Linked DNA regions of Homo sapiens: all the other regions are linked to region 3. Evidence: promoter capture Hi-C in 16 types of primary human blood cells and fetal thymus (Javierre and others, 2016). All regions are on one chromosome and are shown on one strand. Each heading gives the region's core, a stretch centred on a gene start or on the middle of the fragment in contact. The rest is flanking DNA. Distances are from core to core; before and after follow the strand shown.

Region 1 (3,615 bases), core at 648-3,147, 470 kb before region 3:
CCAGTCTATTCTCAACACAGCAGCCAGAAAGAACCACTCATAAACATAAGTCAGATCATATAACTCCATGCTCAAAACCTTACAACAGTTTCCCATCTTGCTCAGAATAAAAGCCAAAGTATTTACAAAAAATAATAAGGCTCTATATGATTTATGACTGCCCCTTCCTCTCTGACCTCATCTCCTATCACTATCCCTCTCCTTTTTGTCATTGTTCCTGACACCAGATATGGTTCCTTGGAGCTGTTGCACTTACTATTCTATCTGCACAGAATGCTGTTTGTTCAGATGTTAGCACAGCATGCTTCCTCATTTCCTTCAAATCTTTACTCAAAGATTATCTTTTAGTGAGGCCTTCCCTATCTAAAACTACAAGTTCCTCTCTCAAACACACATACTTCTTATTCTCAATCTCTGCTTTATTTTCTCATAAGCAGATGTCACTATCTAATATACTCTATATTTTACTTATTTTGCTTATTTGCCCCCCTTACTATATTGTACACCCCACAATGGCAAGGGATTATTGTCTGTTCCTGTTCCCTGCAAAATCCTCAGTGCTAGAATAGTTCCCAGCTCAGAGCAGGCACTAAATACATATTTGTAGAATCAATGAAAGAATACAGAGACAGGTAAGGTAAGAGGACTGAGTGTAAATAACTATGCCAAAATTTTACACATGGTTGGAAACTGAGGAAAGCTTAAGAGGATATGCCCCCATCTAAAGGGTGGTACAGACAGGCTTGGTGGCTCACGTCTGTAATCCCAGAGACTCGGGAGCCTGAGGTGGGAAGATCACTTGAGCCCAAGAGTGCGAGACCAGCCTGTACAACATAGTGAGACTCTGTCTCCTAAAAAAAAATATTTTTTTGGCTGGGCGTGGTGGCTCATGCCTGTAATCCCAGCACTTTGGGAGGCCAAAGCGGGCGGATCGTTTGAGCCTAGGAGTTTGAGACCAGCTTGGCCAACATGGTGAAACCCCATCTCTACTAAAAATACAAAACTTAGCCAGGTATGGCGGCCTGCACCTGTAGTCCCAGAAAATATTTTGTTTAGATCCTCACTTTGACATTTAACTGTGTAACCTTCAGTAAGTCACAAAACTTCTCAAATGTATGCATCAGTAAAATAGGAGACTTGGAATTCAAAAACTGAAAACTGTCAGTCAGCTAACAAATATAGCCTACAGAGTAATCCCAGCACTTTGGGAGACTGAGGTGGGAGATTACTTAAGCCCAGGAGTTTCAGACCAGCCGGGCAATATAACAGGACTTTGTCTCTACTAAAACTCAAAAAAAAGTCAGGTGTAGTAGTGCACGCCTGTGATCCCAGCTGCTTGGGAGGCTGAGTTGGGAAGATGGCTTGAATCGAGGCTGCAGTGAGCTATGATCATGATACCGCACTCCAGCCTGGGTGACACAGCAAAACGCTGTCTTTAAAAAAAAAAAAATTTTAATATCTATATATATATGTGTGTGTATATACATGTATGTATGTGTATATATGTATATATATGTGTATATATGTATATATGTGCATATATGTGTGTATATATATATATATCCTGCAGAAATGTTTTATTTGGTCAGCAGCAGTTTTCTTAACCTAATTCAATGTTTTTAGATGAGGAATACACTCTACTGACCACCACAGGCCCTCCCACTCTCATTTTACATAGACAACTTCCCTTAGTTTATTTATTTCTAGTCTGGGGCCTATATGCAATTAAGTTTCCTGGCGGCTCATGCCTGTAATCCCTCCAGGCCAAGGCAGGAGGATCACTTGAGCCCAGGAGTTAGAGACCAGCCTGAGCAACACAGCAAGACCCTAAAAATTAGCCAGGTGTGATGGCATGCACCTGTAGTTCTAGCTACTTAGGAAGCTGAGGTGGGAGCCCGGGAGTTTGAGGCTGCAGTGAGCTATGATCACAGCACTGCACTTCAGCCTAGGCACAGAGCGAGACCGTGTCTCCAAAAAAAAAAGGAAAAAAAAGTTTCTCATCACTGAATCAGATTATATGCTAAAATTTTACATGGTTATCATGAACATTATTTATACCTTTCTACTTAGTTTTCTTATGGTCATTTTCCCCACTAGAAAATCCAAAATAAGGATTCACAAAATTATGTAATAACTTCAGAATTGCAAATAGCCTTAGAGATTATCTAGCAAAATCAAACACTCTTGTATCATGACATAGAGGAAAAGACTAAAGGCAAACTGCTTAAGTTTCTTGCTCAGAGCTTCTTAATACAAGTTGGTGCAAGACAATTCAAATCAACATCAAAATACTTGCCTGTGTAAGACCTTATGCTGGAGGTACAACAATAAATAAATGTCCCTACTTCTCCAAGATACACAAGCTAGTAAAGGGCACATACACATATACATGAAGTCATCATAGAAGGCACACATGCTAAAAGGAAGGAAAAACTAATTTCTTTCCGTTTTAGAGAAACCAGTGAAAACTTCCTGAAGGGAAAACATCTGAACAGAGGTTTGAATAATGGGTAGGACTGCTGTTATAGACAAGATGTGAGGGCATAGTAGGAAAAGCCAAGAAGCAAGTAAGTGCAAAGTATATTCAGAAAAAGTAAGTAAATCAGCATGGTTGGGGGAAGAGTGATAGAAGATTATCTAAGAAGAGTACAGACAAATCCTAAGAGCTACTACTTCCTATTTTCTTCTTTAGCCCACCTCTTTATCCCCCTCGGACCCAAAAACTTAGAAAAGGGTTAAATATAATTGGGAACTCAGTAATAATTTATAATAATAAAAACATTAATGGCAACTAGAATTCAGAGTGGGATTATCACATGCCATAAACATACTAAATACTTCATATGCATTATCTTGTTTGAATTTCCTTTTTAAAATCTACTAGAGCTACATAGATGGCATGTGCCTGTAATCCCAGTACTTCAGGAGGCTGAGGCAAGAGAATTGTTTCAGCCCTTAAGTTTGAGACCAGCATGGGCAACATAGCAACACTTCATCTAAAAAAATAAATAAATAAAAATTAAAAAATTTTTTAAATCCTAAGAGATAGGTACTAACATAACGCTCATATCATAAAAGTGATAACTGAAGCTTATTAAGAATAAGTAACTTTTCCAAGATCACAGTTAAAAAATGGATTCATATACAACTCATCTGTCTGCAAAGCCTATGAACTAAACCAAAATCAATGCTAACAAATGGACAGACCAGAAAATTTACAATCAGATTATCAATTTTCAAATACCGATTTTTTATTTTGGGGAGAAATACAGCGACTACTTACCCTAACCTTTAATGAATGCTTTTGTCCTAAGGCTACAGAATGCTCTGGTATAAAGCTTCAAAATTTCCTACAACTGAGTGGCCTTAGGCAAGTTATTTTACGTTTGGGGACTTCAATTTCCTTGTCTGAAAAACGGGTATAGCAGAACCTACTCGTAGAATGTTATGAGAGTGAGTTAAAGCATATAAACCGCTAAACACAATGTCAGGTACGACGTAAAGCAGAGTTGTCCACAACACGGTCCCTGCCCATGTAAGCAAGTAATCAGAGAGGTAACTTGAAAAGTTGGACGCTTCCATATGGAGATGGAATAGTCTAACCTTGTCCAGAAA
Region 2 (3,923 bases), core at 261-2,760, 440 kb before region 3:
TTTATCAGAACTCAAGTAGCATTGGAATTTGTAGTTCATTTATGCAACAAATGTTTACTGGGTATTTGATTTGTGATCTACCAGTGGTAAAAGTAAAACTTGCTCTTATAGAAACCCACCAGAATTACTGTTTGCTTCTTAAAAATTAACAAGAAGATTGCTGTGATACTAAGGAAATCACTGCTTTGATGACATCTCTTTGTTATAAGACATAGAAAGTCCTACTGTGCTATGTAATTCCCAAAGAGTACTCATTTCTGGAAGAAAAAGCAAATTCTCAGAAGCTTTTGAGAACATATATGTTTGTTTTCTGATCCCAGCTTTTGGACCCCTATTATTATGAATACCAGAAGACTGTTTAAAGCAAATATGTTACATCACATAAATTAACCTAGAATTATAGTAGTATAGTTTTTTTACTTCTGCTCCCAACAACTGTGTTCAGGTGGAAAGAACAGTGATTTTATTCCAATGTATTAGAATGTTTCAAATATATAGTTCTTTTAAAACAACTATGTAGTATGGTATGGTCATACTATAGCAACAAATAGTTAAGCTGATGAAGTACAAAACTGATAAGTTTCTTTTCTTATTTCATACAGGAGGAGAAGGAGACAGACCTTCCCTTGCTTTATACAGCTGTGGAGGAGAAGGGATTGTCTTACAGCATAATCCCTGGAAGCTTAGTGGAGAAGCCTTTGACATCAACAAACTCATCAGGGACACCAATTCAATCAAAGTGAGTTCTTGTGGTCCTGAAGTATTTTCTTTTTACATCACAGATCCCTCTGTGTTTCCCATCTTGCAAAATAAATGCTGTTATTGGAGATTACCATCATCATACTAAGTCAGATTTCTTAAATGTTCTTATAAGGCTGTGCATGAATTTGTGAGTTATATATCTTAGGAGTCTTTATCCTCGAATAAAACAAAGAGGTACTTCTCAGACAGTGAGTATGAGGCAAAAAAATAAAAAAGCCAAAAAAGAACTACTGAAAAAAAGGTCTGTCTCAATTGCAACAATGATTTATTATAAACTTTCAGGTGTTATGTATAAAGCATCCTTTTCAGGCCAACCACTTTCACCAAAGTGATGCTGTGGTAAAAATAACAATAATATAGTATCCAAATGCAACTGCATGGTGTTTTACTCAAGACAAAATTGTCATTTTGTTTTTAATTTTCTAGTAAAATGATTCTAGATTTACACGAAGCTACAAAAATAATACACATAATTTGCTTATATCCTTTACCCAGATTCCCACATTTAATTACATTTGTGTTCTCATGCTATCAGTATGTGCCAGAACTGTCTTTTTAAAGTCATACCTTAAATGTTGAGATTTCCTTATTTCCTTACCCTTTTTTGTGTGTGTGACAGAGTCTCACTCTGTCACTCAGGCTGGAGTGCAGTGGCGTGATCTTGGCTTACTGCAACCTCCGGCCTCCTAGGTTCATGAGATTCTCCTGCCTCAGCCTCCCAAGTATCTGGGACTGCAGGCATGGGCCACCATGCCCAGCTAATTTTTGTATTTTTTAAGTAGAGATGGGGTTTCACCATGTTGGCCAGGCTGGTTTTGAACTTCTGAGCTCAAGTGATCCACCTGCTTTGGCCTCCTTACCCTTTCAAATGAGTATTTTTATTTATTTACTTATTTATTTTTTGAGACAGAGCCTTGTTCTGTCGCCCAGGCTGGAGTGCGGTGGTGCGATCTCAGCTCACTGCAGCCTCCACCTCCTGGAATCAAGTGATTCTCATGTCTCAGCCACCTGAGTAGCTGGGATTACAGGCACGTGCCAAGACTGGCTAATTTTTGTGTCTTTAGTAGAGACAGGGTTTCACCATGTTGGCCAGGCTGTGATCTCGGACTCCTGGCCTCAAGTGATCCACCCCACTTGGCCTCCCAAAGTACTGATTATAGGCATGAGCCACCATGCCCAGCCCAAATGAGCATTTTTATATTATTGCTCATTACTTTTATGGCTAGTATAAAAGTAACATTTAGTTATAAATTGGGTTATATTGTTGATTATATTCCCTCATTGTCTTTAATTTTATCTAAACATTAACATTCAGCAATGAATAAGAGACAAAATTCGTGTTCCTAAGTCTCTTCTAATTTATTGGCACTTGAATGTGTGGATCAGAGGTTCATGCTAGGAGTCTGAGCTGGATATAGAAATTTTGAATCCCTTCACAATAAAGATAGTTGAAGAAGCTGTGGACATGTATGAGGTGGGTTAAAGAGACAATTAACAAGAGAAGAGGGCCCAGGCAGCCTTGGGGAATACCAGCATATAGATATGGGAGGGAAATGATTCAGGGAAAGAAGCTTTGAAGGGATAGAAAACAAGGAGAGTGTATATAGTTTTCTTTAAGGCCTCATGGTCCCCACATTGTCCAAGCTGATGGGCACAGATCAGTTTAATTAAGTATATATTTCACAAGGTTAAGCACTGTAAACATTTAGTACTTATTGGCCTTGGGGGTTTTTTTGTTTTGTTTTTTTGGCCCAGTTAGGAAATGAGAATTAGAATGCATGTTCTTAGTAATCCTTTTACTAATTATGTAGATTATTTACAAGAATAGCTGTTGTATAATTAAAACGTTTTTAAACTCTAGGGATTTTTTTTTCTCATGCTGTCATTGCTGATTTGTGAGATATGTATATAGTCAAGATTGGTTTGTTTTGCTTTCTAGTACAAATTGCCTGTACACACAGAGATAAGTTGGAAAGCAGATGGCAAAATCATGGCTCTTGGCAATGAAGATGGGTATGTATTTGCTTCTTTAAGATAAAAAATTTGCAATCGCACATATATTTGATCACAAGCTGACTAATGCCATCTGTAATGTTAGCTGGGGCGGCCCAGTTGTATTTGGTATTTTGATTTATTCTTGATATCCTCCGCTGATCCAGTAGTGCCTTGTGTCTTTGAGAACTACAGAATTATTTAGATATTTTCAGCCCATTGAGAGTATTTGGCTACACTGTATTTTGGCTGTCTTGTCCCTCACAAAATGGTCACCTCCTATGTTGAACTGCATAAATCTCCATTTTTTTAAAGTAAGCCTAGTCAGAAATGCTTTTTAGGTCTGTATCCTGACCAGTGTTAATCATAGTAACACAGTCATAATTCAGCCATTGATCTGTTAATTATTTTAGCTTCTCCCTATCATCATTTGTCATTAATGCCTGATGAACACAATTTTATCAAGCATTGTTAGAATGCTAGGAGATTGTTACACTGAGGTAGTGTGGAAAGTTAAAATTTCTAAAAATTAATTTTTTTAAGAAAAGAATTGTTAGGATATTGCTAGAATTTTTAAAAGCTAAATATACTTTTTGGAGAATAACTTTTTATACTTGATTTTTTATGAGAGAATGACCTTTGCAGTGATAGAAAGGGTTATCCTTTTCCACCTCATCTTTCCTTGACTGACGGAATGAGGGAGCTACTATTTGCATTGTAACTTGTAATTTGATCATCCATCTTTCTTGTTTTGATGTGTTTCTTATTCCAGATCAATAGAAATATTTCAGATTCCCAACCTGAAACTGATCTGTACTATCCAACAGCATCACAAGCTTGTGAATACCATTAGCTGGCATCATGAGCATGGCAGCCAGCCAGAATTGAGCTATCTGATGGCCTCTGGCTCCAACAATGCAGTCATTTACGTGCACAACCTGAAGACTGTCATAGGTAACTTTGGTTTCTTTCATACTGGGGATGATATCGTTTGTTCAGCTACTTTCCATTCTAATCTTTGTTACTTTTTACTTTATTTTTGACATTATAATAAAATAAGTATTATTCTTACTACTTTTTCTGTTTCAAAAGTGATAGATTCATCTTATTTTAAAATTCTTTCAAACATGACAAAAATGGTAACAGAAAATGAAGTTGGCCAGGCACAG
Region 3 (3,644 bases), core at 507-3,006:
CAGCAGGCCCAGGCTTTTGTCTCCGTCACTCCTGTATGTAACCCCCCACCCTTCATTCACTCTCTTGTCCAGGAGTGGAATTCCACTCATCCACTCCCTACCGGACCTCGAGAAAATCGCTCTTCTTCTCTGGGCTTCACGTTCCATATCTGTTCAAGGAGAGAATGGGCCTTTCTCCCTCTGTCTTTGGACTAGTAACTATGATAGGCACATAGTAGGCATCAATAAATAATTGTTGAATGAATGGGTGAATGATTTGCCTTCTAAAAAGAGCACTCACATTAACTTCTCCTTTCCCCCTCCCCTCGACTTTGCTTTGAAGAGAGGCACACTCCCTCTACCACACCGAGGGAGGGGGCGTTGAGCTGAGAAAGGTTGAGAGAATGAGGGACCCAGGTAGGTGGACATCGGCCAAGAAAGGAACCACAGCGGGAGGTAAGACCGAGAGTCCCCAGCTTGAAGCGTCACCACTCCGGGATTCCCAGATTCCAACGCGAGCCTGGGGAAAGCCCACAGTGGAGAGAGTCCGGCTGGCAGGGAATGGCCCTACCCCCGGGGTGAAATCTCGGAGGGTCGTGCAGCCGAGTCGCGCCTCTGCGCTGATGCGTGAGAGATGCCGGACGTCGCGTTTGCCTGTGCGAGCCTCGCGGATGCTGTGCAGTCTTGGTCCCCTCTGCGTGTGTCTAACGCCGAATGCTGGTGTCTCGAGGTGTGAGCTTCGGGGCCGGTGTCTTTAAAGAACCAAAGATTCTTAAGGAGTGATGATCTGGGTAGAGCGGCCCGACGTAGCCGCGCTCCCAGGTCTCGGTGCGAGTCCTGCGGACAGACCAGAGGAGACCTGCTGGCCAGATGCCCCGGGCCCAAGGCGGACGCCAGACTGTCTCTGCGCCAGCCGGGCTGGCCTTCGGAATGGATCAGGCACCCGGGAGGCCGGAGTGGATCTCAGACCCTCAAGCCGGGAACAAACCCGTCGATGCCCGTGGGCCTGGAGTCCGCCTCCTCCTTCCCGCCCCACCCCTACCCCTGCCTCCGAAAGGCTTCTTCGCTGGTCAGTAGCTGCGTGCCCGTCTGCCTGAGGCTGGGTCAGAATTGGCGGGCTGGTAACGACCCCGTGCACAAGCGGCTCCCAGTCTCTCCAGAAAGGGCCGATGACTAAGGGGTGGGGGTGGGGGCGGAGGGCTGGAAGGTGTTAGGGAAGAACGTTAGCGGCCTATCCTGTCTTCAGCAGCGCCCTCTCATCTTCTAGCTCTGACGCCGAGCAGAGCAGTTGGAGCTCGGGACTGGGAACTGCTGGAATTCCTATTTAGACTTCTAGACAGTCTAGAAACAAGAACCTTTCTTTCCCTGGGCCTCAGTTTCCTTGTCTGTAAAATCAAAAGGCGGGCTCTAGGTGTAGGCCTTCTTTTCGCTTGGTGATTCTGGATTCCTTTCCTTGGATCCGTGGGGAGGGGGTGGCAGCAACAGTCCAGGGCGTTGGCCGTCCTGTGCCTCAAGTACGTAGTCCCCGTGCCCGCCCCCTCAACACCCCCAGCAGCCCGCCCCCCTAAGCCCGCAGAGCAGGGAGCTGAGTGGGAGGGGCAGAGGCGGGGCCGGTTCCCAGTCCCTGCTGGCGGACTAGAGTGGCGCGGGCTGAGCGTAAAACCTGGGATAGCCACTCCCCCTTTTCCTTATCCCCGCCCCCCTGCCATTGGCTCCCGGGAGAGGTTGACATCAAAGCCGCGGTCTTATATAAGCCAGATCCGCAGGGGAGTCCGCAGAAGGGTTAAACAGGTCTTTGGGCTTCGGCGACCTCGCCCGCGGCAGAAACCGGTAAGAAGACAGTGGGCTGCGCGTCTCATTTTCAGCCTTGCCCGGACTCTCCCAAAGCCGGCGCCCAGTAGTGGCTCCAGAGCCCACAGGTGGCCCCCGGCAGTCTCTGGGGCGCATGGAGCGGCGTTAATAGGGCTGGCGGCGCAGGCCAGTAGCCGCTCCAACATGAACCTCGTGGGCAGCTACGCACACCATCACCACCATCACCACCCGCACCCTGCGCACCCCATGCTCCACGAACCCTTCCTCTTCGGTCCGGCCTCGCGCTGTCATCAGGAAAGGCCCTACTTCCAGAGCTGGCTGCTGAGCCCGGCTGACGCTGCCCCGGACTTCCCTGCGGGCGGGCCGCCGCCCGCGGCCGCTGCAGCCGCCACCGCCTATGGTCCTGACGCCAGGCCTGGGCAGAGCCCCGGGCGGCTGGAGGCGCTTGGCGGCCGTCTTGGCCGGCGGAAAGGCTCAGGACCCAAGAAGGAGCGGAGACGCACTGAGAGCATTAACAGCGCATTCGCGGAGTTGCGCGAGTGCATCCCCAACGTGCCGGCCGACACCAAGCTCTCCAAGATCAAGACTCTGCGCCTAGCCACCAGCTACATCGCCTACCTGATGGACGTGCTGGCCAAGGATGCACAGTCTGGCGATCCCGAGGCCTTCAAGGCTGAACTCAAGAAGGCGGATGGCGGCCGTGAGAGCAAGCGGAAAAGGGAGCTGGTGAGTCCTGGGGCTTGCATGCTCCAGCCAAGGGTGCAGGAGCGGTGAGCAGCCTCAGGCCATGCAGGTAGTCGAAGGAGGCTGTGTTGTCCTGTGTCCGATTTGGAAAGGTTGGGAAGAGTTCTGAGATGGTTGGTCACAGCGTGCGATCCTGTGCATGGAGGGAGGCAGATTCGTCATAGAATTCATTTGTAATACGGGAGAGTGTTTGTAATACTGAGTGAATAATCTGTTTGGAGCCTCGGACCCTCCAAAAATGCACACACCACAGGTTTTGCTTCCAATTTGGAGAAGTCCTGATTCATTCCTGGGCTCTCCTGGAAGCCAGGTTAAGAATATGTGTTAAAGTTCTTTACTTTGAGTTTGAATTTATGTGCCCGGGCTCGGTTCCTGTTTTCAAAGGGCCTTTGCTGGACCGGCTAGTCTACTTCCATCATTGTATAAATAGGGAAACTGAGGGCCCAGAGTGGGTCGGGGCAGGAAAAGCACCTATCTGAGGAGTCCAGGGTGGAGGTGAGGTAAAACAGATCGGGTCTTCTACTCAGTCCAGGGCCAGTTCTGGTTCTCCCCATGGACTGGTTCTGAGGACGACTTCAGTGGCTTTGCATGTAAATAAGAGCCACTTCTTTTAGCTTTGGAGAGCGCAGTCTCGTCTTGGCCTTCTTGATCCTCTCCGGTTAGGGTGACACTTCCTGGCACTCGGTCTGGCTGTCCGGGGCTGGGGGCTTCTGAGCGCTGGGTTTTCAGGCTGGCCAATCAGTTTCTCTAGGTTGGGGGGCTTAAGGCCGTAGCGGAGTGGAGCCAGCTGAAGCGCCCCACCTGGTTTATCCAACCTGCGGGGGCCTGTGGTAAACTGACGAAAGCTCATCCAGGGACGAGGGAAAGATAAATAGGCATCGAGTCTCTAAACGGCTGCCCCGGACTGGGGATGGTGCAGGCCGGCTTCTTTCGAGGTGCGGCGCCTCGAAAGAAGTTGTTATTGGGCGGATCCCGGCCCCCACGCGTCGCCGCCTCCTTCAAGTAGCACCGCTTGGTTCCTGCTGAAAGAGCGGGAAGGAGGACGCTAGGCCAGCTCGACTCCCCGCTCTTTTACCTCCGTATCTGAGGCTCCCAGCTCCGGCTTAGGG
Region 4 (3,934 bases), core at 290-2,789, 480 kb after region 3:
ATGGGTGATATGGGTCATTAAGGAATTACCAAACTGTTTTCCAAATTGGCTGCACAGTTTTACATTCTCACCAGCAGTGTGTAAGGGTTCCAGTTTCTTCGTATCCTTGCTAATACTTATTGTTTGTTTTTATTTTAGCCATCCTAGTGGGTATGAAATAGTATCTCATTGTGGTTTTGATTTACATTTCCCTAATGTACATCTTTTTTTCTTTCTTTCTTTTTTTTTTTTTTTTTTTAAGTTTTGCTCTTGTCACCCAGGCTGGAGTGCAATGGCATGATCTCAGCTCACTACAACCTCTGCCTCCTGGGTCCAAGTGATTCTTCTGCCTCTGCCTCCCAAGTAGCTGGGATTACAGGCACCTGCCACCATGCCCAGCCAATTTTTGTATTTTTAGTAGAGACAGGGTTTCACCATGTTGGCCAAGCTGGTCTCGAACTCCCGACCTTAGGTGATCCACCTGCGTTGGCCTCCCAAAGTGCTGGGAGTACAGGCATGAGCCACCGTGCCCAGCGCCAATGTTGAACATCTTTTAATGTGCTGGTTGGCTATTTGTCTGGCTTCTCTGGAGAAATATCTATTTCAGCAGTTTACTTGTTTTAAAACTTGGGTTGTTTGTGTTTTTATTATTACTTGTAGGAGATTTTTTTTTTTTTTTTTAATTTTCCTAGTACAAGTTTCTTATCAGATTTTTGATGGGAACGTATTTCTCCAAGTCCATGAGTTGTCATTTCGCTTTTTGATCGTGTCCTTTGCAGTGAAATTTTACTCCTCTGTTTTCTTCTAAAAGTTTGGTTGTAGCCCTTACATTTATGTCTGTGATCCATTTTGAGTTAATTTTTGTGTATGGTGTAAGGTAGGGGGCCCTGCTTCATGCTTTTGCATATGGATATCCGTTTGTTCCAGTACTATGTGTTGAAAAGACTGTTCTTTCCTCCGTTAAATTCTCTTGGCTTCTTTGTTGATAATCAGTTGGCCATAGATATATGGGTTTGTTTCTGGACTCTGATTTTTAGTCCATTAATTTGTATGTTTATCCAAATGCCAGTGTCATATCGTCTTGATATTGTAGTTTTGTAGTAGGTTTGGAATCAAGAAGTGTAAGTCCTCCAACTTTGTTCTTATTTTCAAGATTTTTTGACTGCTTGGGGCCTTGTGCATTTTCATATGACTTTTAGGATCAGCTTGTCTATGTCTAATTCTAATTAATTTTTGTTTTCTTCTGTTTATGAAGTTTTCAGTATTTTTTATGCTATCTTCTGAGACCTATAATGGAAATATAGACCTTGATAAAATTCAAACTTCAGATTTTGACTCTGGTTTTAAAGAGCAACTCTGTACTTAGACTATGGCAGTGCTCACAGTATGCAGTTGCCAGCCGGTGGGAGAGAAGTAGTTAAAGCTAAAGTCTTTTGGGGATTTTAAAAATTGGAATTGTAAAAATTTATGAAGATGTGTGAGCTATGGAAGATGATTGAGAAACCAGTAATAATGAGTTGGGATAAAATCAAGAGCATTTTAAACAAGCAAATGAAAATTACTTTATAGTAAGTATATCAGTGTCAGTGTAGCAGCAAAATTACTGTGGGTTCTTAAATTTTATTTATTTATTTATTTTAAAGCCCTAGTCATGAACATTACATTTGTTTTAATTAAGACCATGGCCTAAGTTAATTTTTTAAAATTTGAGTTTAGATTATTCCTGTAAAGGATAATCTTTTGGTACAGCTTCACTTTTCCCTGTAGTATTTTCTTGACAAAAGGATCTGGGTTTCCTGAAGTTAATCTTACAAGGCCAAATCTTTCTGTGTGTTCCATAAAGATACTTTAAGCCAGCATATCAACTATAAGATGCTGACACATACAAGTATTAAATTTACATTATTTATTTGTAAGATTTTTCTAAACAGCTTGTGTTAAAGACCCTTGAGTTTTTTGAGCACATGTTCCATATCTACATGTTTTGTTTTAAAATGGTTCTAAGGTTTTGTGGTCAAATGAAGATACTTTTTAAAGTCAATAAAAAGGTATAAAACAATACACTGTCAATATGGATAGCACAGAAAGATATTAAGAAAGAAGTTTAAAACACTTAGAATTTCCATTCTAAAGATGACATTTTGCTCTCAGTCCAGACTTCTGTGCTTATATTTAATATTTATGTATGGGTGTGTGTGTGTGTTTTAAAGTGTGATCGTACTCCACTTACTGTTATTTAACCTACTCTGCTCACTTAAAAATGTATTCGTTATTCCAGGTCAAAGAAATGGCAGATGTCCTTAACCCATTAATCACTGCAGTATTTCTAGAGGTTAGTAATTGTTTTTAAGTCTCTGACTCCAAAGGTATTACGTATAATTAACTCTTCTGAAGCCTTTTGCTTTTGGCTTTTTTATTTTATTCACCATATTGGTAGTTTAGCCATATTGATGTAGATATGACAGAAATAGTGTATATTTGATGTGTATTCCTTCCTTATTAATTAGAAAGCATACAGTTGAAGCTGCAGGGTACTGGAAGAAGCAGTAGATTGTCATTACTTAGTACTAATCCTTGACAGCTTAATGGACGGTTCACAGTAATGAAACACCTTCTGAATACCAGCTGGTAAACATGAAGGGCTGAAAATTATAAACAGGTAAGCACTGCTTCCTAATTTAGGACTAAAGTTTATGCAGAGGTTTGTTACAAAACAAAACATGTTGTCATTTCCTTGCCAGGAAATCATGCTTTGTTTTGTCAGAAAGGTAGTGTTTACATTATCCTCATCATTCCATTAGATTTGAGAAGGTAGATGGTTTAAGTCAATGGAAAAGAGGATCCTGTGACTGATTATATTACCTCCCTATGTGATGTTTTCTGGATTCCATGTTTTAAGAACTCTACCTTGTAAACTAACTGTGCAGACAACATAGACTTTTTGATGATTTGTTTAAAACATGTTTATGTAAGTCTGGGGGGAGAAAATATATTTGATAGTTAAGTTTTAGATGTTAATTGAAAAAATGTTTTAACTACCAAACTCTTACTTCTCTAGTTTTAAATTCTTTTGACATTACCATCAAGGAAATGATTTTAATTCTTTAATTACACAGTTTTAATCAAGTAGTCAGGGAAACTATTTTGATCATTGTAATAATTTTTAAAAATATAAGTTTGTGATTTAGTAAATGGCAGAGTGGTGCAGTAGAAAAGACTTTGTAAACCAGGAGCCCCGTGTTGCCCTGGATCTTCCTTGATTTGTTGTGTGACTCTGACAAACTTCGTTATTTTCATGTGCAACATAAGAGATTTAACTAGACGATATCTGAGGTCCCTTTTGTGTGGGAAATTGAGTATTAAATGTCACACTGAATTTTAAATAGTACTTGCCATTGATAAATTTTAAAAAGGTAATATCACTTGATATGGGCTCCCTATTATTTTTAGTGGATTTTTTTTTTGGATACAGATTTGAAACACTCTTGTCTTCGAAATTATACATTTTTATCTTAATGAGCTCTCTGTTGATATTCTTTTGAAAGGTGAGGGCTTTTCAGTATAAATGAAGTCCAGCAAACTGAGGGTAATGATTCTCTAACACTTCTGAAAAATGTTGTTCAAGATAGAAATATATCTATACTGTCATCTTTGAAAGCAGTATATGTGTGAAAGATGTTTATGTGTGTGAGCAGTTATTGTGCTCACTGATCGCATTGAGTCCATGGAAAAAGAGCTATCATAATGGGCTAGAAATTCTATAGGTGTAGGATTTATAGCCTTCTGAAAGCCTCTTTCAGTAATTGACCACAATATTGTGACAGAATCTACCCTACTCAATAAAGGAATAAATAAGCTTTGAATGCCAAGTCTGACCATGTTGCCAAAGAAAAGCTACCATGTCTGATGGGCAAGTTGTACAAAATGCTGACATTCTCTTTTGGTGCTCATATCA
Region 5 (3,646 bases), core at 894-3,393, 490 kb before region 3:
AGCCGGATGTCACAATGGGAAAGATTCATTGAGATAATGTATATATAGTGCTTAAAATAGTACCAGATACAGTCAGTGACACAGGTTAGCTATTATTACTTTTTGTAACGTACTGGAAGCAGTTCCAAATGAAGGCTTAACCTGGGAAGGAAATTTTCTTCATTACAATCCTACTTTTTCCTTACCACTTTCAAAATAGCTTTTACAGCCTGACTGAAGCAGTGCCTTCACTTACATAATTTATATTTATGATGTCCATGGCACCACCTGGCTTTAGTCACACCCAAGGAAGTCACAACTCCAAGAGCAATCGTGGAGCATCCCCACCACATGAGAGCACAGTGACCTGGTGTGATAATTCTCCAACATGCAAATCACTGGGGCATTTATTAAAACTGCAGGTTCCATGGTCTCCCACACCAAAGCTTCTGATTCACTTAGTCTGAGAGTAGAGCCCAGGAATTTGCATTTTTAAACAAATTCTTCAAGTGATTCTAAAAAAGGTTTTCTACAGAGAACATTGAGTCTCTTGTTTCATAAATGAATGAAATGGAGGCCAGCAAGGGAAGAGACCTATCCAGTCTTCTTTCTGGCTAATGAGAATGCACAGACTAGAATGAAGGTTACCTTTTAATATTCCAGTGTTATTTCCCTGACTCCATGCTACAACAGCTTAGGACCCAGAATGAATCTGTCCTACACCTTGGTTTATTCCACTGACCCCTGATGTCTTTTTACCCATGCATTAGGTTAACTGGAGAGACACAAAAACCCAGCTGTATACTCAAAAGGTATGCAGAACCAGCTACTTTAGAAACCTTTCAATCATAGCCCCAATATTTACATGCTGTGTGACTTGTGATAGTTATTTGAATTCTGTGTGCTTCGGTTTATTCCTTTGTAAAGTGGTAAAACAAAAGCTACATTTTCAGGATGTTGTGAAGAATTATGTAAAATACTAGCACAGAGCTTGCAAATAACAAGTTCCCAGTAAACAGTAACTATTATTAATGCCATCTTAAAACATGGCAATAAAACTACATTTTTTCATTCTCCTAAAGCCGTATTCTCAAAGCGTAGTCCCCTACAACAGAATTACCTGGAAGTGTTTGTTTAAAACATAGATTTCTGAAACCAGCCCCCCATAAGACCTAGTGAATTGAATCATTGGGGTGGGGCCCAGAAGTCTGCATTAACAAGCAAGCATCCTCGATTCTTCTTTTGCATGCAAAAGTTGGACTAGGGCTGTAGACAAAGAGTACTTCTTCTTAATGAAGACGTGTATGAATGAGAGGGAAGCAGTGTTGAACACTCTAATTTGAAACTAACAATTTTCTGCTAATAAAAGGTTGAGTGCCACCTACTGCCCCATTTTAGAATGCAATGCTGAGATTGGTTCAATTCCTCTCTCAGTAATTGAATTTACCCTGAAAAATAAATCAATCCTAAACAAGATATCCAAACAATATAAAGCACTGTTGGAAGAAGAAATAAAAACAGGCTTTGCTTAACCAAAAGAAAATTTTCAAAGTTAAAGGTTTTTGGAGTTTTAGATTCGTATATCTAATAAACTCCTGTAGTTTCGAGTTACTGCTAAAACAGTAAAGGAAAATATAATTTTTGACTCACTGGCCTGTGCCAACAGTGAAAGGAAAAACGGTACCACTGAACACCCTAAAATACTGTAATGAAACAACATGCAGCCACTCTAACTTCCCATGGTCCCAAGAGAAAATTAAGTGAAATAAAAGCAATTTTCTTACCTCATAACACTGTATTCAAGTCCAGTATCAAAACAGCCACCTGCAGGACACTAGTTGGAAAGTTAACATTCCCTTTCAAAGTTACTCCAAAAGCCTTTTGAAATATAGTCTGTTACTATGTTTAAAGCTGATTTCCCCTTCCAAGTCGCAAATGCATACAAATATGCCCAGAGGCTCAAAAGAAATGGGCAAAGCCTTATAAATATTCATTTACAACTAGCAGTTATACACTGTTTCAATAATTCAATGAGAAATCATAAAAAGCATTTGCCTTCAATTTTTGTTTATTTTTAGAAAATAAATGGCAAAATATATACACTGTGGAGTCTGAATCTCCTCATCATAGAGTGTGAACGATGGTCCGGCTGCGAAGCTGCTGAATATACTCTTTGGCATGGGCAACTGCCGTCTTTGGTGGCTCAGGTGGAGGTGGGGGCCCTTCCACCAACTTCACAAAATAATGGCAATAAACCTTCTCCATGATCCCAAAGCGACCTCTGCCATGGTAGCGGATGCGTTTCAGGCACTGGCCTCGTCCTGAGGTGGACTCAGCTAAACAGGAAGAAAAAGAGAATTACAGGAAATGAGTGTTATCCACAAGCCTGATCAGCTGAGCAATTTCTGTCCTTTCCTTGACTGGATTCTGAGATTACATGGGCTCACTGGTTGGCTAGAGCAGGCTTGTCTCAAAACAACTATCTCCTGAATGCTAACTAAGGACCAGGCACTATTCTAGTGTTGGAGAAGTAAGAGTGCACAAGACTGGCAAGGCCCCTGCCTCCAAGCAGTTTACATTCTGGAGAAGAAAGACGTAAAATAAAATGATAATTTCAGCTAGTGACAAGTGCTGTGAATAAATCAGAATGAGATGACAGACAATGATGGGGTGTAAGGGACTTCAGACTGGGAGTGTCAAGAGGCATCCCTGAGAAAGAGACATTTGATCTAAGAGCAGAATGAATCATCTATTTGAATATCTAGGGACAGGGTATTCCAGGCAGAGGAAACAGCAAGTGCAAAGGCCCAATGGTGGGAATGCACTCGGCTTGTTTTAGGAAAAGAAAGAAGACTACCATGCTGAAGCATAGTAAGCAAGGGGAAGAGAAGCACAAACAAGGAAAAGAGATTAGAGATAAAGCTAGGGCAAGATTACACAAGGTCCTGTAGGCTCAGGCAAGGAGTTTTTTATTTTATTCTAATTGTGATGAGAAGCCACTGGAGTCAATGGCTCCCAAATGCTGGTTCTCTGACAAGCTACATCAGACTAACCTAGGGAATGTAATTAAAATGCAGATGCTGAGACCTCACCTCTGTGGATTCTAATTCAGTATATCTGGGGTGGGCCTTGGAAATTACATCCTGGGCAAACACCCGTACCCCAACTCTCCCCAGAAATTCTGACTGACAGCCAGTTTTAGGAACTCTGGCACAACGGCCCCTTCAGCTCCCCTCCCCCATTCTGTATATCAAAATTTGACCTTGAAAGTGTAAAGAAATCTTTTAAATAGCATGTAAGGGCCAGGCGCGGTGGCTCACACCTGTAATCTCAGCACTTTGGGAGGCCAAGGCGGGCGGATCACCACAAGGTCAGGAGTTTAACCTTGGCCAACATAGTGAAACCCCATCTCCATTAAAAATACAAAAAATTAGCCAGTTGTGGTGGTGGGCACCTGTAATCCTAGCTACTTGGGAGGCTGAGGCAAGAGAATCGCTTGAACCCGAGAGGCAGAGGTTGCAGCGAGCCAAGATCCACCACTGCACACCAGCCCGGGTGACAGTGCAAGACTCCATCTCAAAAAAAAAAAAAAAATAGTACATAAGAAGAACTGTTCACCTGTTCACCCACAATAAGTCAGAGTAGTAGCCATCTACCTTCTACTATT
Region 6 (3,385 bases), core at 602-3,101, 510 kb before region 3:
TGCCACTGCACTGCAGCGTGGGCAACAAGAGCAAAACTCTGTCTCAAAAAAAAAATCTAGCCTCAAGATTCTGATGCCACATAAATGCAGCGTAATATGACATGAAGAATCAGACCTGGTCATTAGGAACTCCATAAAGGTTTTTCAGAAGAATCCCTCTGAGTTTCTTAAGTCTGTATTTAATACAAAGCTTGTGCTAGGAATGGCAGAAGGTTTCATCTCATGTGCCAGCTTTGTTCAAATGTCCAAATCACTGTGTTAAGAAAGTGTCTGAGGCCTAATTATAACAGTCACAGTTATAGCATGGAGCAAATGTATTACAATTGTCTGATTTTTTGTCCTCTGCCGGCTCTCCCACCTCACTTAGGTCATGTTTGTCTCTTTCATCTGGGCTGCCTCATCTTAACTTAGTATCAGGCTTCTAGGGATGTGCATAAAGGTTAACTCTGGAATCAAAGAGACCTGTGTTTGAATCTTAGCTCCATCATTTACCACCTGTATGACCTTGGAGAAGTTACCAAGCCTCTCTGGTCCTGTTTTCTCATCTCAAAAATAGGGGATAATAATATGCCTACCTCGTAGGATTGTTGTGTGAATTAAATAAGACAATATGTGCAAAGCACTGAGCACAGTGCCTGATATCACTAAGAGTTCAATCAGTGGGCTATTAATATATACGTCCCACAATGCCTAGCACTCTGTCACTCACATAGTATGGTCTCAATAACTGTTTCTTAGCAGTTATCTCAAGATCCCGAGAATGAGTGATCTCTTGTTTTTTGTTGTATTTTGTTCAATGCTAGTTAGTATTTATTGAGCACATGCTATGTTCTAGGCACTGTTCCAAGTGTTGTATGTGTATTAATTTATTTATTCCTCTACAATCCAATCGTTCCATTGGTGGAGAGAAAAGAAATGCTTATTCAGGCAGTCTGGCTCCCACACATCTGCCCTCTTGACCACTGTTTTCACTGTCTCTGCCAAGAAGCAGCTGTCACTTCTTTTGCAATAAGAAAGACAAAATGAAACAATTTTTTAAAATTAGCTGTGCATGTTGACATGCACTTTTAGTCCCAGCTGCTTGAGAGACTGAGACCGGAGGATCCCTTGAGCCCGAGAAGTCAAGATGAGGCCCCTGCACTCCAGCCTGGGTGATAAAGTGAGACCCTGTCTCTTAAAATTTTATTTAAAAGTCAGATTTTAAACATGTATTTGTTGAACAATGGTCAACTCCTATGTGAATCTCTAAGAACCTCAAGATTGAGAGATTGACATTCGCTTTCATTCAAAAATTTTTATGGAGAGCAGAAGTGTAAGGCATTGGGCAAGATGCTATCGGAAATATAAGAAACAGAGGAAATACTGTCTTCTCCTCAAGAGCCTATAGATGTGGAAGGTGAATTATTATTGTGAATAGCTGACAGTCATTTAGGGCTTATATGTTCCCAGTCACTGTGCTAAAAGCTTTACCTACATTATCTCATTTAATCCTCATAGCGAATGGATTAGAACAGTGCAATCGATATCCCCATTGTGTGAATGAGGAAACCAAAGCCTTCAAACGTTCATGACTTGCTTGGGATTCCAAGAAGGAACATTTGTATAGGCTAAATGGCACGTGGCTGCCACAGGCAACAATTCCATCCATCTTTCTTTTCCCCACTGTGTCTTGAAGAGCAGGGAACTTGAGAGGTATCTGAAATCCTCCTGGTGAAATGAATACCGACTTTGTAATATACTCCCCTCACTAAATATCAGTGCATTTATCAGACACTAAATTTTAAATGCAGGCACCTGCAGAGCTAGTGAGTTCTAAAGAATCCCACTCCCTAAGTTTCTGGGCTTCTTCTTACCTCTCTTCCACTAGCGTCTCTTTTTCCACCTTCAGCACTTGGACATACGGCTACATAGAGAGGAAACTGTCTCCCTGCTTTTGCTTGCTAGTTCCCAATTTCAAGATGTTGTATTACACCTGATTTATGGCCTGACAGGGCTCATTCTAGTCCACAACCCTGAGCTTGCAGAATGCACAGGGGAAAATTTACTAACGATTTCGTTCATCTTAATGCACTGTAGGGAATTTTTTAAGTGAAAAAGGCTCAATAAGCAGGGACATTTTAAACAGCCAATTATGAATAACAATCGCTTGTTGACTGAGTGCAGTAGATCTTCCAGCTCATTCGGTTTTCATCTAATTAAATCTTTCATTTCCACGGGCAGCCTGCCATACAAGCTTGTGTTTGCCTTTGTCAGCAGGAGATAATCAATAGGAGAAATGTAGATGCATTTCAGCATTTATTAGCAGCTCAATTGGAAATTGTTTTATTTTAATAATATCCTTCTCTTCGTTCTGTTCAGGGTAAATCGACAGCTTTGATGAATAATAGACAACAGAAAATTGGTTTATATTATCCCACTGAGAAGCAAAGAAATCAGAGAATGAAAGAAAGCTCAGAGAGAAATTGAAAAACACTTTAAAACTGAATTTTCTTTGTTACAAAAAAAGGAAAAACAAACAAAAATGCTTTCCATTCACTCTAAAAGATTATTAAAACTACTTGAATTCAGCTAGCTATACCTACCAAGAAAAAGACAATAAATTCTTACTTTCTGAAGCTTTTCACCACTTTTACTTGCATCTGACATTTAATTATTCTTCATTAATTTCCACAGGAGTGAGAACAACATGGATTAGAAAGACAAGAACCTGGTGCAAAATGCTATTTGTTCACCAGAAATGAACTCAAATACCCAAATGTTCACATCCTCAAATAGTGGACACACTGGTAGGAGTAGGAAGTCTTAAGAACAAACATGGGAGGTCCACTATGATGAGTTAGGTATTTATTTTTATTTTATTTTAGAGACAGGGTCTCACTCTGTCACCCAGGCTGGACTGCAGTGGTGCCATCTCAGCTCACTGTAGCCTCAACCTCCTGGACTCAAGCAATCCTCCCACCTCAGCCTCTTGAGTAGCTAGGACTACAGGCATATGCCACCATGCCTGGCTAATTTCTATATTTTTTGTAGAGATGATGATTTGCCATGCTGCCCAGGCTATCCTCAAACTCCTGGGCTCAAGTGATCTGTCAGCCTTAGCCTCCCAAAGTGTTGGGATTACAGGCATGAGCTGGCCATGATGAGTTATTCATAAGAGTTCTCTGCACACCTTCATTGATGGAATTCAAACTGACTAGAAGACTTTTCTTCTGAAATCCTGGCTGAAATATCCAACTGTGACTATCAGGCATCTCAAATTTAATATCTAAAAATGTTAATGTTTTATCACAATGAGGTACCACTTTACATGCGTTAGGATGATGATTAAAGAAAAACAAAATTCTAAGTGTTGGCAAGAAGGTGGAGAAAATAGAACACTTGTGCA
Region 7 (3,687 bases), core at 790-3,289, 450 kb after region 3:
ACACTGTGATTATACAGATATAGAAAACATTCTATATAGAATGATCAATACAGATATATAGAATGTTTCCTATATCTGTATTGATAATTGAGACATAAGAAAATTTTTATTACCCCAAAAAGGTTCTCTCACGTCCTTTTGTAGTCACTGTTCTCCTTACTCTCAGTTCTTAGCAATTACTGATCTGTTTTCTGACCTTACAGTTTGACCTTGTCCAGAAGATTATATAATTGGAATCATACAACATATAGGCTGTTGTATATATCAGCAGTTTGTTTACAAAACTGGATTTTATTTTCGAAATGAAAAGAAAATGAAAACTGCCTATCTTAGCTTTCATTTTAAAATAAGCAAATGGTTTAAAATGATAAAAAGGGCTAAGGCCTAGTATGTAGTAAGCAGGGTCTAGTTTTAAAAAATTCACATAGATGCTAATAAAGCCTGAGAGTTAAGGGACCTTCCCTTCATGTTTACACATCCCCTCCCTCTTGTAGGAGAGACAAATGCCAAAGAGAATGAAAACTCCTCCCCAGTGGCTGGGGCATTTGGTGTATTCTCTACCATCTCTACTGCTGTTCAGAGCACAGTAAGTAAAAAAGTGCAAGGTGGTCTGTTCCTTTCCATTATTATAATGGGTTTGCATATCTTTCTCTCTCTTTTCTTTGAACAGCCATGTGGACTGATTACTTTTAAAGGAGTCCAAGCCACTGAAGATCGGTCACTTTGGTCTTATGGGTGGAGTGAATGCTACTTGAAAACTTTCATTAAAGCAATAAGGAAGAAAGTAGGAAATAAAGGAGTAGCAATAAATAAGGGAGTAGGAGTTACAGAGAGGCAATATACGTATTATTTTATGGATTAGGAATTCTTAATTTGGTGGCCCTAAAAAATGTCTACTTTACAAAAATATTTTTCTCATAGTTGCATCTTTTAGGCAAAGGGGAAATGTGATCTTTATGACAGATATTTGCAAAACTATGTATGATTAAAAACATTTGTAAGAGGATTATCTAGGAAGCTAAATATCTTTGCTACATGAGGATAGATAGCTAGTTTTTTTTAAATTTTAACTTTTTATTGAAATATACATACAGAAGAATGTAACAAGTGTTGTTTGAATTTTCAGTGTGAAACACCCAGAGTAAGAAACAGTATTACCGTAATCAGATCTCCCCACCATCTTGTGTCCTCTCCCAGTTTTCTGTGTCTTCTGCTCTCCCCCTCTCCTGCACCAAGATAACCATAATCCTGACTTCCACCATCATAGGTTAATTTTGCCTGCATTTCAGCTTTACATAAGTGGAATCATATATAGTATCTAACTTCTTTCATGCAACATTATATTTGTATAATTTACCTATGCTGCAGTTTGTGTGGTAGATTTGATTTTCTTTGTTGTATTTCATTGTGAAGCTTTGTCACGTTTTATTTATTCATTCCACAGTTGGTGAGCATTGGGGTAGTTTTCAGTTTGTAGCTATTACAAGCAGAGCTGTTATGAACATTTTTGTGCATGTCTTCTGATGAACCTCTGTACTTATTTCTGTTAGGATGTAACCATGAGTGGAATTTCTGGGTCATGCAGCTGGAGTAGATATTGACAAACAGTTTTCTAATGTGGTTATACCTATTTACGTTCCCACAAGCAGTGTGTGATTGTTTCATTTGCTTTACATTCTTGCCAGTGCTTGGTATTGTTAGCCACTATTTTTATATAATAAATACATAATAAAAATGCATAAAAATATGTTTTCTTAATATTGTTGTAATGAGGTTGCATGTATTTTCTAGGGAAAGAGTGTTATAAGTGGGGGTTTGGATGCCTTAGAATTCATTGGAAAAAAGACAATGGATGTGATAGCAGAAGGGGATCCTGGATTTAAAAGAACCAAGGGTCTGATGAACCGAAATGCTACACTATCTCAGGTACTGATTATCCTTACCTGTTTACTTCCTGTTTCTGTTTTGATCTGTATTTTTGCCTTTGTTTACTTGGAACCTTGTTAGTGTTTTCTTTTCAAGCATTTTCAATAATGTTTATTCAGGCGTTTTTTTGGGGGGATCAGGGATGGGTGAGAGCTCTACTGCTTACAAAAATACCCAGCTCTTTTTCTCCTCCTCTTTCTGCAGGAGCCTCCCATCAGTGCAGTGCAAAATGCTAAACCCTGTCAGGGTTTTTTGTTTGTTTGTTTGTTTGTTTTAATGTTTAAATCACTTTCAGAGAAACACCTGGTTCCTTGGGTGTGATTTGCACTGTCTAGGATCAAATTATGTGGTCAGGCACGGTGGCTCACGGCTGTAATACCAGCACTTTGGGAGGCCGAGGTAGGTGAATCAGTTGAGGTCAGGAGTACAAGATCAACCTGACCAACATGATGAAACCCCGTCTCTTCTAAAAATACCAAAATTAGCTGGACGTGGTGGCGTATGCCTATAATCCCAGCTACTTGGGAGGCTGAAACACGAGAATAGCTTAAACCCGAGAGGCAGAGGTTGCAGTGAGCAGAGATCGTGCCACTGCACTCCAGCCTGGGTGACAGAGTGAAACTCCGTCTCAAATTATGTGTGATCGTTTTTCTTTCTGCAGCTCCTGAGCCCACCAGATTTGAATAGCAGTGCCAAGAATGAAAGGGCAATCCTCTGTACTCTAACCTGTCTAAGCTTTGCTTCCTTCAATTCTCAGAACTCACCCTTGAGCTCTCATTGTTTGCTACAGTGTAATGCCTCCATCTCTTTTTAGGTTTTACGAGAGGCGAAGGAGAAAGAAGAGATACGGACCTCCAATGAGGTTACCGTGGAAACAGACAAGAAAACTCATTATGGGCTACTCTTTGATGAATTTCAAGGCCTTTCACATCTAGAAGCTCTGGAGATGCTTTCCCAAGAAAGTGAAATAAAGGTAATTCCAAGCCAAAATCTCAACTGGAAAAAGTCTTCAAGTAAAAGAATGCTGCATGGTTTCCTTTCTCTTTGTACATTTGGAAGATGAAGTGTATGTTTTGTTAGAGGCTTGAGATGCCTTCGAAATACTACCACAAAATAAATTTAAAAACTAATGTTTGATTGAACTAATTGCTAAAAGCAGAATTAGTCAAGTATTATTTCTTTAAATTTAAACAAAAAAGGTTAACAAAGAGGTCTTAATAGGACATGTGTTATTTTTCCTTCGTTTTGGTCTTTTTTTTTTTTTTTTAGTTTCTTTGGCCTAGGCTGCCAAGAAACCTGTTGACTTGAGCTGCCAATTTGTGTACAGTTACCTGTTAGCTTTTAATTGATTTAAGATTATCTAATTTTTTTGTTATTTCTAAGCTGTTGCTAAACACTGATAATTTCCAGGAATTTCTGGCTGGTATTACTTTTAGAAGCACAGAGTCTCCCTACCTTTCTGTCATAACCAGCCTCTTGTGTTAAGGTTCTTAAGGAATAACTTGTGCTGGCTGATGAGCTCATAATTTTGACTTCAATATGATCTTTTTATAGTCTCTTCCCTATTTGTGAATGTTTTTCTTTTCTTTCATACTCCTACAACATTTTGTTCTTGTATCCATTCAGGTGAAATCTATCCTTAATTCTCTGAGTGGAGAAGAATTAGAGACTCTAAAAGTTGAATTAGAGCAACTCAAAGAAACATTTTCTCTAGCAGAATTTTGTGAAGAAGAGGAAGAAGAGAAAAAAGGTAATATGAAA

Evidence for each region. The method cuts DNA at HindIII sites, captures the fragments that hold promoters and counts their contacts. A CHiCAGO score of 5 or more calls a contact.
Region 1: a contact is called between a fragment that was not itself captured here and the fragment with the promoter of HAND1 in region 3, in 1 of 17 cell types (naive B cells). The highest score is 5.6, in naive B cells.
Region 2: a fragment that was not itself captured here is called in contact with the fragment with the promoter of HAND1 in region 3 in 4 of 17 cell types (neutrophils, activated CD4 T cells, total B cells and 1 more); the score reaches 6.3 in neutrophils.
Region 4: a fragment that was not itself captured here is called in contact with the fragment with the promoter of HAND1 in region 3 in 9 of 17 cell types (megakaryocytes, neutrophils, activated CD4 T cells and 6 more); the score reaches 7.0 in megakaryocytes.
Region 5: a contact is called between a fragment that was not itself captured here and the fragment with the promoter of HAND1 in region 3, in 4 of 17 cell types (neutrophils, activated CD4 T cells, total B cells and 1 more). The highest score is 9.0, in neutrophils.
Region 6: a contact is called between a fragment that was not itself captured here and the fragment with the promoter of HAND1 in region 3, in 3 of 17 cell types (neutrophils, monocytes and non-activated CD4 T cells). The highest score is 8.4, in neutrophils.
Region 7: a fragment that was not itself captured here is called in contact with the fragment with the promoter of HAND1 in region 3 in 7 of 17 cell types (total B cells, activated CD4 T cells, megakaryocytes and 4 more); the score reaches 10.6 in total B cells.

What each region holds. Positions count from the first base shown.
Region 1 is chr5:154,941,514-154,945,128 of GRCh38, reverse strand. The region is part of intron 2 of MRPL22 (mitochondrial ribosomal protein L22); the gene reads right to left. Among named protein-coding and RNA genes, the nearest start is that of MRPL22, 2.2 kb to the right of the region's middle. The HindIII fragment of the contact is 2,390 bases long and covers 703-3,092 here.
Region 2 is chr5:154,916,783-154,920,705 of GRCh38, reverse strand. GEMIN5 (gem nuclear organelle associated protein 5) reads left to right here. Exons shown (of 28, transcript NM_015465.5): 11 at 603-739; 12 at 2,702-2,775; 13 at 3,527-3,708. Among named protein-coding and RNA genes, the nearest start is that of GEMIN5, 19 kb to the left of the region's middle. The HindIII fragment of the contact is 1,651 bases long and covers 685-2,335 here.
Region 3 is chr5:154,476,339-154,479,982 of GRCh38, reverse strand. HAND1 (heart and neural crest derivatives expressed 1) reads left to right here and starts at 1,756. Exons shown (of 2, transcript NM_004821.3): 1 at 1,756-2,517. The coding sequence starts at 1,975. RefSeq lists enhancers at 1-308, 3,082-3,644. The HindIII fragment of the contact is 6,833 bases long and covers 1-3,644 here.
Region 4 is chr5:153,993,296-153,997,229 of GRCh38, reverse strand. It overlaps FAM114A2 (family with sequence similarity 114 member A2), which reads left to right. Exons shown (of 14, transcript NM_018691.4): 13 at 2,258-2,311. Among named protein-coding and RNA genes, the nearest start is that of FAM114A2, 44 kb to the left of the region's middle. The HindIII fragment of the contact is 4,597 bases long and covers 1-3,837 here.
Region 5 is chr5:154,965,355-154,969,000 of GRCh38, reverse strand. It overlaps MRPL22 (mitochondrial ribosomal protein L22), which reads right to left. Exons shown (of 7, transcript NM_014180.4): 7 at 1-2,315. The coding sequence ends at 2,104. Among named protein-coding and RNA genes, the nearest start is that of MRPL22, 26 kb to the right of the region's middle. The HindIII fragment of the contact is 3,432 bases long and covers 428-3,646 here.
Region 6 is chr5:154,983,916-154,987,300 of GRCh38, reverse strand. No RefSeq gene overlaps it. Among named protein-coding and RNA genes, the nearest start is that of KIF4B, 28 kb to the left of the region's middle. The HindIII fragment of the contact is 769 bases long and covers 1,467-2,235 here.
Region 7 is chr5:154,026,388-154,030,074 of GRCh38, reverse strand. It overlaps FAM114A2 (family with sequence similarity 114 member A2), which reads left to right. Exons shown (of 14, transcript NM_018691.4): 5 at 495-586; 6 at 1,792-1,926; 7 at 2,741-2,899; 8 at 3,553-3,676. Among named protein-coding and RNA genes, the nearest start is that of FAM114A2, 11 kb to the left of the region's middle. The HindIII fragment of the contact is 1,248 bases long and covers 1,416-2,663 here.